Regions from separate parts of the Homo sapiens genome. Here regions 1 and 3 are each linked to region 2. The links are contacts of gene promoters, found by promoter capture Hi-C in human tissues and cell types (Jung and others, 2019). All regions are on one chromosome and are shown on one strand. Each heading gives the region's core, a stretch centred on a gene start or on the middle of the fragment in contact. The rest is flanking DNA. Distances are from core to core; before and after follow the strand shown.

What was found. Contacts are between HindIII fragments. The study calls those that stand out against the background at their distance.
Region 1: a contact is called between a fragment that was not itself captured here and the fragment with the promoter of ZCCHC14 in region 2, in 1 of the 25 tissues and cell types used here (dorsolateral prefrontal cortex).
Region 3: a contact is called between the fragment with the promoter of C16orf95 here and the fragment with the promoter of ZCCHC14 in region 2, in 1 of the 25 tissues and cell types used here (dorsolateral prefrontal cortex).

Annotation. Positions count from the first base shown.
Region 1 is chr16:87,724,352-87,728,826 of GRCh38, forward strand. KLHDC4 (kelch domain containing 4) reads right to left here. Exons shown (of 12, transcript NM_017566.4): 7 at 2,414-2,573. Among named protein-coding and RNA genes, the nearest start is that of KLHDC4, 39 kb to the right of the region's middle. RefSeq lists enhancers at 144-1,343, 976-1,065. The HindIII fragment of the contact is 6,423 bases long and covers 1-4,475 here.
Region 2 is chr16:87,490,220-87,494,607 of GRCh38, forward strand. It overlaps ZCCHC14 (zinc finger CCHC-type containing 14), which reads right to left and starts at 2,805. Exons shown (of 13, transcript NM_015144.3): 1 at 1,450-2,805. The coding sequence starts at 2,019. It overlaps ZCCHC14-DT (ZCCHC14 divergent transcript), which reads left to right and starts at 3,968. Exons shown (of 4, transcript NR_110943.1): 1 at 3,968-4,016. RefSeq lists a silencer at 2,744-2,923. The HindIII fragment of the contact is 17,996 bases long and covers 1-4,388 here.
Region 3 is chr16:87,315,367-87,319,750 of GRCh38, forward strand. C16orf95 (chromosome 16 open reading frame 95) reads right to left here and starts at 2,026. Exons shown (of 7, transcript NM_001195124.3): 1 at 1,725-2,026; 2 at 406-457. The coding sequence starts at 1,876. C16orf95-DT (C16orf95 divergent transcript) reads left to right here and starts at 2,143. Exons shown (of 2, transcript NR_135180.1): 1 at 2,143-2,356; 2 at 2,491-2,677. RefSeq lists enhancers at 1-347, 1,604-2,053. The HindIII fragment of the contact is 14,678 bases long and covers 1-4,384 here.

The DNA of each region.
Region 1 (4,475 bases), core at 1,447-3,946, 230 kb after region 2:
AAAGAAAAACGTAATAAATTAGATTTTATCAAAAACTCAAAGCTTCTCATCAACAAACACTTCGGAAGGTGACCAGCCAAGCCACTACTGGGAGGGTATTTGTAATCCACACACCTGAAAAGAACTGGTGTCCAGAATGTCACCTTCTGCAACTCACTAACAAAAACTACAGCCCATTAAAAATAGCAGAAGACATGAACACACACTTCAGGAAAGACAAGCTCATGAAAAGCACTCAACACCAGCAGTCATGAGAGAAATGAGAATTAAAACCACGAGGTACCACACATCCACCAGAGCAGCTAAAAACAGAAAGACTGACGCCATTGGGGCTGGTATGAACAGGGGGCAACTGGAACTCCCCAACATTTCCAGCACAAGTGGAACCGGCCACTGCTTCGGGAAGAGAGCTGACCATTCCTTATTAAATAACACCCACACCCACACCCACCCCAGGGCCCAGCAGCTCCACTCCAGATATCTATTTACCCAAGAGAAACCAACACACGCAGCCACTCAAAAGATTATTATGGACGTGCTCATAGCAGCTTCAGTCACAGCTGCTTCCAAAGGCTGTGTCTTCTGAAGAACGGAAACAGCCCAGGTGTCCAACGAAAAACAGAACCACAAACTGTGGGACAGTCATATAATGGAACACTTCAGCACGAAGCAGCAATGAACAGAAACATGCAACACGTGGGTCTGAAAAGCTGAGGGAAAGAAGACTGGCCCCACACATCTGGGTGACTTGTTTAGCAGAAGCTCCAGGACAGGCAGATCTATTACGGTGGGAAAATCAGAGCAGCGTCACCTCTGGGCGGAGGGGAGGGTGGGCAGCGGGGCCGAGTGGGAAGGGCACGGCAGGATCAGGGTGTGAGTCACACGGTGCCCGCACTTGTAAAAATGTGTCCCCTCACTGTGGGTCAATGACGCATAGGAAATTACCACCGACTACAGGCGCCCGCCACCACGCCCGGCTAATTTTTTGTATTTTTAGTAGAGACGGGGTTTCACAGTGTTAGCCAGGATGGTCTCGATCTCTTGACCTCGTGAGCCGCCCGCCTCGGCCTCCCAAAGTGCTGGGATTACAGGCGTGAGCCACCGCGCCCAGCCTAAGCATAGCAAAATCTTAATAGCAGGATCTAGGAGGAGTATACAGGTGTTCCCCGTAAAATTCTTTCAAAAGTTAGCTGTGGTTGAAAATTTTCAAAATACAAAGGATTTTTTAAACCCCTACAGTGAGATACTACTTCATACCTCTCAGATTCACAGAAATGTAAAGGTTGGCAGAGTGTGAAATGGGAGTGAAGCAACAGGAACACTTGAGTTCCGAGGACAGAGCCTGTGCCAGCCGCCTCTGTGAAGCACACGCCCCACGAGCAGCAGGCACATGTGAGGAGCACACACTCCACGAGCAGATGCCAGTACACGTGCAGAGCACACGCCCCAAGAGCAGGAGGCTCCGGGGTGGGCGCGAGAACATTCCTGTCAGCACTGTTCTCAGGTTACCAAAGAAACAAGCCCGTTAACAGGAGCGAGGAGAATTTCATTCCACAGAGACTACTACACAGTAGTGAGCGTCCATGGTGCAGGAAGGAGACCCTCAGAACACAGAATCGCTCACACTGCACTGCTGACAGGGGTGTGGAGAACAGAACAGGGCCCTAACACGGCACCAAGTTCACAGAGGAGCCGATTAACACTATCTCTATTTCTAATTCTATACAAAGAACTGTTTATATTCAACCAATGAGTAATCCCATGTGAAAGCTTCAATGTTCATGAAACTGAAGAGACCACAGACAGCAGCGCCTATTTTCCCACGCCGCAACTCACCCGTCTCCCCACCCCGCGCCTCGCCCGTCTCCCCACGCCGCGCCTCGCCCGTCTCCCCACGCCGCGCCTCGGCCCGTCTCCCCACGCCGCGCCTCGCCCGTCTCCCCACGCCGCGCCTCGCCCGTCTCCCCACGCCGCGCCTCGCCCGTCTCCCCACGCCGCGCCTCGCCCGTCTCCCCACGCCGCGCCTCGCCCGTCTCCCCACGCCGCGCCTCGCCCGTCTCCCCACGCCGCGCCTCGCCCGTCTCCCCACGCCGCGCCTCGCCCGTCTCCCCACGCCGCGCCTCGCCCGTCTCCCCACCCCGCGCCTCGCCCGTCTCCCCACGCCGCGCCTCGCCCGTCTCCCCACGCCGCGCCTCGCCCGTCTCCCCACGCCGCGCCTCGCCCGTCTCCCCACGCCGCGCCTCGCCCGTCTCCCCACGCCGCGCCTCGCCCGTCTCCCCACGCCGCGCCTCGCCCGTCTCCCCACGCCGCGCCTCGCCCGTCTCCCCACCCCGCGCCTCGCCCGTCTCCCCACCCCGCGCCTCGCCTGTTTCCCGGTCCCACGCCTTGCCTGTTTCCCCACCCCCCGCCTTACCTGTTTCGAGTAGCCCCCATAGACGACGATGCCGCCCTGGGGAGTGACGGACATCTGGCAGCCTGATCTGGGTGTGGGCCCCGTCCCTGACGGGGACAGCTTGCTCCATGTGAAGGTGTCCAGATTAAAGGCATACACGTCGTTGTAGTAGATGTAATCCCTGGTTAGAAGAACAGCAGCTGTCAGGGTCCGTAACATTGGGAAAAGCCCTGACATTAAAAACTGAACTGATTTAAATTAAAGGTAAATTTCCTACTGTTTGGGGAAAAACTCAAACCATTTTTCTCCTCTGCTCTTACACCAACACAACAATCAACACAGAAACGTGGCCGCTTTCCCTGCAACGAGCCAGAGACGCCAGTCAGGTCTCCTCAAACTCAATCTTGACGCAATCTACCTGGAGACAGGGCAACATTTTCACCTGTTTAATTCAAGTTTGAATTGATATGAAAGGACCACAAGCACGTATGAGTTTGCATTTGAAAACCGGAAATAATGCTGGCCCACAGAGGCAGAGGAATTTAATCTGAAAGCCATACTGCGTTTTCTTACACAGTTAACACAATCAGAGACAATTCCATTAGGTTATTAGGTGTGCAACCGTAAGGGCAGCAGTGAATGGCGCCTCCAAAGGGATGATCAGAACGGAGGTGTGAGCAGCCTGGCAGCAAGGGTGGTAAGGCCCCACAGTGGACTGGAGGGGTGAGCGAGGGGACTGGGCGCTCCAGGGAAACTGAAGACCACAGAAGCCGACCCTCTGTGCCCGAAATCACAGCGCGGCAAGGAGGCCCCGCAGCCTTGCCCTGCTCAGTGCCTGCCGGACCCAGCACGCAGACTGGGCTGAACAGGGAAGTGGCAGCTTTGCTGGAGGCATGGGGAGACTCGGAGGCGCACCCAGAAAGTCCTGTCCTAATGTGGAACTTTGACACAATTATCGTGAAAGCGTAAGGGGCTGCTCTCCAGCTACTCAAAAAGGAGAGCCAAACTCATTTTTTAAGGAAAGCATGGAAGAGCAAGCAGCTCTAGCCCAAGTCTCAAGTGCCCGGTTTTCTCCTGTTTGTTCCTGTTTTGTGTGAAGCAGGAAAAGTCACAGGGCGTTTACCCAGCACCAGCTGCCACATCTGGTCTTAAGATAAACAGCCTGGGCACAGTGGCTCACACCTGCAATCCCAGCACTTTGGGAGTCTCAGGCAGGTAGATCACTTGAGGCGAGGAGTTCAAAAACAGCCTGGACAATATGGTGAAACCTTGTCTCTACTAAAAACACAAAAAATTAGCCAAGCATGGGGGCGGGTGCCTATAATCCCAGCTACTCAGGAGGCTGAGGCACGAGAATAGTTTGAACCTACGAGGTGGAGGCTACAGTGAGCTGATCACGCCACTGCACTCCAGCCTGGGCGATCGAGTGAGAATCTGTCTCAAAAAAAGAAGAAAGAAAAGATAACCTGACCTTGCTGACTGCAACTCAGACTGACCACATCCTTCGCAGGACGATGGCTCTTAATATAGATAGAATCTGAGGAATGTGGAAATGTGGAAGCGTGTAATCTTTAAAAGACTGCTACAGACCACTGTTTTTTTCAGATTTCACGTCGCAGATTTTTAGTACAAAGATTCTACTTTGCACGTAAGATAAATACAGAATATTTTCTCTATAAATGCAGAATAGAGTTTAAGGAAAACTCCCAAGTTGGTATTTGAATAATTTTAAACAAGATAACAACAGCTTTGAAAAAAGTTCTGATTTTAAAATGGTTGCAAGTTAAAACAAACATGAAGCATGATTTGATTTATAACCTGTAAGTTCAAAGGAGGAAGGGGCTGTACAATCTCACTGTCCTACACATAGTAGGTAATGAATTAATGCTCTGACAAACTTATGTGTGCATTCTGACAATTATTTGTTTTAAAATAAATTTTAAGAATGAACATAAGGCTAGGCGCGGGGGCTCAAGCCTATAATCACAGCACTTTGGGAGGCCGAGGCATGTGGATCATGAGGTCAGGAGTTCGAGACCAGCCTGGCGAACATAGTGAAACCCCGTCTCTACTAAAAATACAA
Region 2 (4,388 bases), core at 1,555-4,054:
CTACGATTGAAAGACAGCTTTAAAAACACACACATAAAAAACCTAGCAAACCAGACGGTGTTCTCAGCCACTCATAAAAGCAAAGTCTTATCAAAGTTTTAACTTCAAAGAGCTTAAAGACACTGCAAAGAGACACTGAGCAAGACTTGGTCCCGACTGCAACCTATTCCCTTCCAAAAAATAATCAGTTTGTAATCTAAATACACATCACACCAGGTCAAAGTAATCTCTTCCGGCAGCAAAATTTTGGCACTGGATTGCAGGGGGCTGTTCAAAATAGCTGGAGCCCCAGACACTTTGCGTTTTCAGTTCTGAAACACTTAGACAAAAGTTCACATCGCTAAGTGGATGGCCAGGACGCCCTTCCGGTTCAATTTGGAGACCGGAGATCTTTAACCTAACCTAACATTCCTTAAGGCATCGGTGCCCTCCCACTCAAAGTCAGCCTGGGTTTTGTTTCTAAGGGTCGCCAATAAATAGGTTTCACGGGCATTTAAGGCTCTGGGAGTCTTTTTCTGTCTGTTACAGGTAGCCCGGCTCTTAAAAACGATCACACACAACGTTCACAAGCATGTGCACATTCATACACACGTGTGCACATATACATGCCCACATGCGACACACGCGTACATCATACAGCATGCACGTGTCCATAAATGAGCTCACACGGACAGCCATGTCCCGCGCCCAGGCCCCCAGCGACACAGGCCCCAAGCAGGGCCTCCACCTGTGTGGAGGGAGCGGCTCAGACGGGGAAGCCCCAGCGCCTTGCAATGTTCACCTCACCGGCGGCTTCTGGCGTGGCCACGGCTCCTTCCTTTTCTGGTAATAAATACCAGATTTGGGGAAACCAAGGCGCCGCAATGTGTGTTATCTGTCACCCAAGGGCCCCATTAAGGGGACAAAGGCCTTATCGCGTTTGCAGCCGGCTAAGTGAAAGGAGGGCACCTGGGACTGTGAGCTCTGACCGCGGACGTCTCCCGCACCGCTCCCGCGGATCCTCGGACCCAGGGCCCCTGCAGCCGCTCCTGCCCAAGGGGCGCGAGGCGGAGGTGTGGAGGCTTTGGGGCACGCAGAGGGGACTGAGGGTGTGGGCTCAGGGCCGCGGTGCGGTCTTGGGGCTTAAAGTGCAGACTTAGGGTGAGGAGTGCGGGCTTAGGATGGGGGCTTGGGATGTACGGCGGAGGCTTGGGATGTACGGCGGAGGCTTGGGATGTACGGTGGAGGCTTGGAGAGGTGGGGCACACATTTGGGGTGCGACATAGAGGCTTAGGATGGGGCTTGGGATACGGGCTGGGGGCTCGTGGTGCAGGTTGGAGACCTGGGTGGGAGCTCTCAGTGCAGGCTGGAGGCGTGGGTCGGGGGGTCGCGGTGCAGGCTGGAGGCTTGGAGTGCAGAGTTGGGGATGCAGACTTGGGGTACAGGGCAGAGCTCGGGGCGGGCACGCACCTTGTGGCAGGCTGGGCAAGTGGGCAGCGCGCCGCCCGGCCCGGGCGCGCCCTTGCCGCCGTGGCCCCCGCCGCCGTTCAGGCTGCTCTGGATCTGCGTGAGCTCCTGGCGCAGCACCTGCTTCTGGTGGAAGCTGAAGGCCGGGTGGTTGGAGGCCATGGTGAACAGCAGCAGGAACTCATCGCCCGTGCGGCCCTCGTTAAGCTGCAGCCCGTAGTTGTGGATGATGGAGTCGATGTGCGTGAGCGTGCGGTAGAGCACGCCCGCCGCCTCGCGCTGCTCCGAGCCCAGCAGCGCCAGCGACACCAGCAGCTTGCTGCGCACCACCTCGTCCGTCAGGTTGGTGAGGCTGCCCAGGTCGGCCGGGTTGTTGGCCTTGATCTCCGAGTCGCGCAGCGAGTGGTAGTCCTTGCGGGCCAGGTCCTCCAGGCACGAGCCGAGGAAGCGAAGCTCGAGCGGGATGCACAGGTCCAGCAGGCCGCACAGGAACTCCACGCGCTGCGGCGACGGCAGCTCCGAGAACCAGCGGTACACGCCGTCCCTCTGCAGCGGGCAGCGCTTCTCCACCATGCTGCCGCCCGCGCCGCGCCGCGACCCGGGGCCGGGGACCGCGCGGGGGCGGCCGGGGGGCGCCGGGGGCCGCGGCCGGGGCGCGCCGGGACCGGGGACGCGCGGGCCGGGGCCGGGTCCGGGCGAGGGCGCGCGGGCGCCGCGGGCCGGGCGGGCGCCGGGGCGGGGGCGGGGACCGGGGCCGGGCAAGGCTCCCGTCAGGGGCCGGCGGGCGGGCGCGCGCGGGGCGCCGGGGGGGCCCGGGGCGGCCGGGGCGGCCGGGGGCGGCGAGCGGCCTCGGGCCCCCCGCTCACGGGGAGGCGCCTTCCCCGCGCCCGTGCCCAGCGGCGGCCGGTGCGCGGCGGCGGCGGCGGCTGCTCCTCGTCGTCGTCGTCGTCGTCGCCCGGGAGGCGGCCGCCCCCATCTCCCCCCGCGCCGCAGGGTCTGTCACTGCGGGCCGCCCCCCGACGGAGCCGCCCCGGCCATGCCGTCGCCGCCGCCCGCGCCTCCGCCCAGGCCGGCCGTTACCCCGGGCCGCGGGCGCGGCGTCGCCGCCTGGGGAGCGCTGGGGGCCGCGGCCGCGAAACGGACGCTGGAGGGGGAGGGACGCGCGGCGGGAGGCGCGGAGGGATCCGGCCGGGACTTGCCGGCCTTGCTGCTCCCGCGCGGCGGACGGATCCGGGCCCGAGCGCGGCGGCGGCGGCGACGGCGACGGCGACGGCGACGGCGACGGCGGAGGAGGCGCCGGCCGAGGAGCGGAGGGATCGTCGCGCTCGCGGCTGACGGGCGGCCGGGATCAGCAGAAGTGGGCGGGGTGGCCGCCTCTCGCGACAGCCCGGGCCTGCCGGGCCCGTCCCCCCCCCACTGATTGGCTCAGGCGGCCCGTTCTCGGCCCGTGATTGTGCCGGGTCCCCAATCCCATTCGCCCGTTCCGCGGCCACGCCTCCCTGGGGGCTGTCGATCATGTTGGGGCCACCGCCTCCCGTCCCTCGGCGGCCGTCAAGACGCGATTGGTCCGCGGAATCGGAGAGGCGGAAAACCCGGGCTGGATTTCTGGTTGCTTTTGTTCCCGCAAATTTGCGTGGAGCATTGTTTTTCGGCGAAAACGGGGCGTTCGGCCTTCCTGCTTTATTTTTGAGCGGTGTAAGAGGGAGGTAGTGGGTATCTTCGAGAAACGGCCGCCGCGGGGTCCGGAGCCCCGGGTTCCAATCCCGGGTCGGCCACTGCAAAGCTGTGTGACCTTGGGCGAGTCACTTGGCCTCTCTGAGCCCCAGGCGCCTCCCCGGGAAAAAGAGGGTAATAATAACCGCCCCCGAGGTTTGTGCGAAGGTGTTGAGCTCACAGAGGGCCGGCACCGGCACTTTTGAGGCGGCTGACTTGCCCTGGGGGTGTGATGGGAGGTGCAAGCTTTCTCCAAAAGCCTCGTCCAAATGGAGCCTTTAAATCCGCCTTCTTTCCGCGGCTACTTCACCAGCTCGCCAAACGCAGAAAATGCAAACACAGGGGAGGGGGCAAGGGAGCTGACCTGGCTGGAAGTAAACAGAAACGCCACCCTCCCCTGGCACTTGCATTGGCACCGGATTGCAGGTGGGGGAAGGGCCGGTGCACCCAACCACCTTTAAATCCCACCACTTACACACAGGCATAGAAGTAGAGCCGCGGGGGCTGGACGCTCATTCCTCCCCTGCCCTTCCCCTAGAGCGCTGCTTTGAATGTCTGTTGATCTAGAACGGGGTCTGTTCATTCATGGGTTCCAGGTCCCAAGCGCCCGGGGGCAGCTGAGAGCAAAGCTGGCGCCCTCCCTACCCTGTGGAGCTTACACTCTGGTTCTGGGCAGTGCACACTAGAGATTGGTTAAATCAATGAATGAACTTTTTCAGGATATGGTCCAAGGTGCTGAAAACTTCCTAACAAAACTCTTCAGCCGAATCTGGCACGCCTGTGGTTCCAGCTACTGGGTAGACCGAGGCAGGAGGATCGCTTGAGGCCAAGAGTTTAAGACCAACCTGGGCAACATGGTGAGACCCCCCCTCCCCGCCCCAGTCGCTCCAAAACAAACAAACCCCACATTCTCCAGTCTTAGGTCTTCGAGGATGAACAGAGATTGCAGAAAGGCATGGTTGGGAACAAAAAAAATTGCTCTCCACTCCCCCAGCCCCCTCCACACCTTGGGCACATTTCCCTGGAGCTGCCCCAGTGTTCTTTGTCAGTGTAGGAAGAAGCAAAAATCTAAATGGAGTCAGGATGGCCTCCCACATGGGCACAAGGGCAAGGCTGGGGACAGTTGGGTCTCCTCATCTTATTTCCCAGGTCTAGGCTGATTTCTATTAATAATTAAATTAATCGTCGTTGTCCTGGACCTCACTTCTTAATGTGATTCCAGGGAACTG
Region 3 (4,384 bases), core at 776-3,275, 180 kb before region 2:
TCCCCTCTGAAAATGGGCATGTACAAGCAGCTCTAGAGCTTATGCGCACATGAGTGCTGCCTTTATGGCCATCTGTCACACTCTGGTGTGCAAGAGCTTCCACATCCATCCCATGTGACCTTCGCAACACCCTCAGGCAGGAAGGAGAGGTGCTGCCATCACCTCCAGGGGCACACGGAGAAGCTGATGCCCAGAGCAGGTATATTAGGTGGCCTCCTGAACTCTGAGGTGTTGTGAGGGCCTGGGAGGTGTTCTGGAGGCCCAGGGATAGCTCCTGCAACCACACTTTTGTGTTTGGAGGATTCTCTCATGGGATGCAGCTTCTGGACCCACATTCCCTGCTCTCCTCACCCCACAGGGATATGTTGGGGTCAGGGCCAGTGGCTGAGGATTTGCTTTCCTTACCGAATGACGGGGGAGGCACACTTCTTTCTTGTAGGTTTGAAATGTGCTATTCCTAGAAGAGAAGAACAGAAAAGCTTAGGGTTTGTGTAAACTAGGGGGCAGGGATGCTAGAGCACAGGCCTGGACCTGTCTTCTCAGAACTGACTCTTAATAATAAAGCCCACGGGTGGTGGGGATGGGGGGATCCTCTGAGCCCAAGAAGAGTGAGAGGGTGACATCAGAAGCAGGCGTGTGCTAGCTCATGCGTGAATGTCTAGGGGCTCCTGGGGGCTGGCTGTCATGGAATCCTGCATTCCCAAGCCAACCAGCTTCAAGCTGACTCCAGCTACACTTGTGCTTGGAGCATCAGAAAAGACAGGAGCATTCCAACCTGCTGAGAACTTTCCAAGACATGTAGCTGCCAATCACATCACCTAGGATGATCTGTCAGACACCCTCAACTTACTGAAATACTGAAGAAAAAACATCGTCAAACTGTCCATTAATGAACCTCCTTCCACTATAAAAACCCGGGTGCTTTGTCTCTGGGATGACAAAGCACTTGGGGTTACACAGCCTGTGTGGCTCTTCCCTGTTCCACTCCCCAACAAACTGCTTGAATGTTGGCTGGATGAAGCGTCTCCAGTGGGTGCAAAGCCCTGCTTCCCTGACAGTAGTGGGTCAAAGTGCTTTGTATGTGGAAACCGTAAGAGCGATATAAGTGTTTTTGGGTTTCATTGTCATAATAACCATTATTATTATTGCTATTTTTGTGAGAGTAATAGGTTCACGCATCAACTCTCCCAGATAATGCTTGAAAACAGAGGATGGGGCACTGCCCTCCACAGCATCCGAGGCCCCTTCTGGTAATGACAGCACTGCTATATTCCTGGTGGGGAGGGGGGGGGCCACAGCCATCTCAGTCCTTGTAGTTCAGGTGGGCCAAACTCACCACTGCCCAGCCTGGAAAGCTGGGAAAAAAAAGAATCTCCTTTTTGTTGAGGTTGATAATCTGATAACATGTAAACCTCAGGAGGTCCTGGTGATCATCTTGCCTCCACAAGGGAAGCCAGCAAAAAGGAAGGAAGCTGAGAGATGGAGAGAAACCTTCCAGGACCATGGTCAATGTGTACCTGGATACATCCATGCCTGAAGGCCTACTTCTGACATTTTCAGTTATGTGGAACCATCAGTTGCGTTTTTGTTAAGCCAATGTAAGTGAGGTTCCTGTGGGTGGCGGTCAAGAGTTCTGCCTGTGCATAGGTCATGGAGCAATGCCGGGCCGGGAACTCACAGGCGAGGTGTCGGGTAGCCGCGGGCAGGATTCAGGACTCACTTGCCTGCCATCCTGCGCGCTGGGTGTGAGTGCCAACCTGCAGAGCCCGACGCACCCCGCGCCCGGCCCCCCGGCAGCAGCGCCTGAGGCTGCTCCAGTGGCCTCATGATGATGGTGACAACGCCGCGGGGACGGTGGGGACCGGCTCGCACGCATATGGCTTCTTATGGCTGACGCGCCCTTTCACACACACATCGTCCGCAGGCCCTGACGCCCTGGCTCCCGCCTTTCCCTCCTGCCCCAGGAGGAACCCAACCCGAGCTCAACCCCAGCCCCAACCTCAACCGCTCAGAGGAGCCCAACAACGCCCGCGCGCCCGCCCGTCCCGCTGACTAGCCCGCGCCCAGCCAATCAAAATTGGCCTTCTAGGTATGTGACCTTAGCTGGCAGCTGATTGGTCCCTCACGAGAGACGCGGGGTCAGCGGCTCAGAGCGCGGCTGTGTGGGGCTGCGGGGCTCCCGCCATGCCCGCTGGGGTAGGTCCTGCGGACCCCGGCCACTGGAGCCACTCATCATTTCCGACGGATGGGCCGGAGGGGCCGCCGGCCGCCCCAGCCAGGGTCTCGGTAGCCTGCAAGGAGAGAAAGAGGTGGGAGCAGCCCGCGCGGGGCCCTGCGTCTTGCATAGGCGCTTCTGGTAAAATCACTCCTTTATCTCAGATAATGAGTTGGCGCTGGATCGCTGCGTCCTCAGGTGGGGCTCGAATCGTGACTTTTAGAGAAATAGGTTTTCTTTCTTTTTTTTTTTTTTTAACAACATGGGGTTTAAAGGGCGCGGAATTGGAAGCAGTCGTCACCCGGAGGCCTGGGCGTGCAAGCACCGAAGCTCTGGCTGGCCCTGAGCCTCCCCACCCCACCCGCTCTTTTCGCTGGAACGCGTGTACTTTGGGCAGTTGCTGACGTGGAGACAGGACGTATGTCTTCATATTTTAGTAAAACCCAATGCCCTCTGCCTCTCTGATTATGTTCTTTAAGTTATCGCCAGTTCCAATTTGTATTTCTTGGAAACGGTTGGGTCTTCCCTCACTTTTCAGTATTTTCATGTAGACTCAAATACTCTGGATTAATATTTGTATTTGCCCAAACCATCACGAGCACCTCTTACCCTGATGGGCAATACTTCAGTGTGCTGCGTTCTGGCCACAGAGCAAACAGGGTGCTCCCAGGCACTGCCCTCTCGGATTTCTTGCCTTGTTATTTAATCATTAAGATCGTGACCTATGAGCAGGACTGTTTCCAGCCAGCACATACACATGTCCTCTCCTGGCCAGCATCCATGCTGATTAGACGGTGCCCCTGCCATACTAGCTGCCTAATATTTCAGATACCCCACCCCGTGTGTGTGTGTAAATCATGTCACTGCCCTCTTTGTAGCTAATGACAAAATTCCAAGAGTCACCATTAGCCTAGCACATTATGCCTGTCTCATTTCTGCCCACTTTGGAGCACTCGGCTTCTCTGCTGTTTTCCTCCAGAGCACACTGAAACACTGCCATAGCACAGCAGGGCATAGAAGACAGGCTCATGCTCCCCTGGACGCTCAGGCCTTCACCTCGGGCACACTAGGTCTTGTCATTCCATGTCAAGAATAGCTCTTCACTGCCCTCACCCACCCAAGAATGGCTAAAATTAAAAGGACTGACAATACCTAGTTTGTCGAGGATGTCACAGCTGGAACCCTCATACATGGCTCATGAAATTGATAAAACCACATTGGCAAACTGGTAGTATTTACAAAACCTAAACATATGAATACCTGATGACCAACTAATTCCTCAACTCACCCAAGAGAAATGAGAGCTTATGTGTACCAGAAGACATGAACAAAACTACCCACAGCAGCTTTCTTCCTGATGGCCCCAAACTGGAAATGATCCAGATGTCCATCCATAGGAAAAAAAGATTTTAAAAAGAAAGTATGGCATGTTCACAGAGAGGAAATTCTGTACAACAATGGAAATGGGCACACAACCACAACCCACAACAATGTGGATGAAGTGTACAATGAAGTCAGACCCCAGAATGTACAGACAATTCCATGTGTGTGATGTTCAAAACCAGGAAAGCAAATCCATCATGACACAGGCTGGGGATGTGAAGGAAACTCCAGCCACCCTGCCCCTGTGCTCTGAGTAACAAGGCCTAGATCCCAATCCTTGCTCTGCCTCTTATCAGAGACAGGTATCAGACAAGTTGCCTAACTTTTCTGAGCTTCAGTTTTATGTCTAAAATAATGATAACCATAGAACCAATCCCAAGGAAGTTTCAGAAGATCAAATATGAAAGAGCATGAAAGGTGCTCAAAAACCAGGGACTGTCATGGTAGCTCACATCTGTAATCCCAGCACTTTGGGAGGCCAAGGTGGGAAGATCTCTTGAGCCCAGGAGTTTGAGACCAGCCTTGGCAACGTAGTGAGACCTCATCTCTGCAAAAAATTTAAAAATTAGGCATGGTGGCACATGCCTGTGGTCCCAGCTACTTGGGAGTTTGAGGTGGGAGGATCACTTAAGCCCAGGGGGTTGAGGATGTAATGAGCCATGATTCCATCCAGCCCGGGTGACAGGGCCAGACCCTGTCTCAAGGAAAAAAAAAAAAAAAGCCAGACAGAGTCCAGCACACGTCAGTTTGTGACGTGAGTGTGCTTCAGGCTGGAAGTTTGGCCAC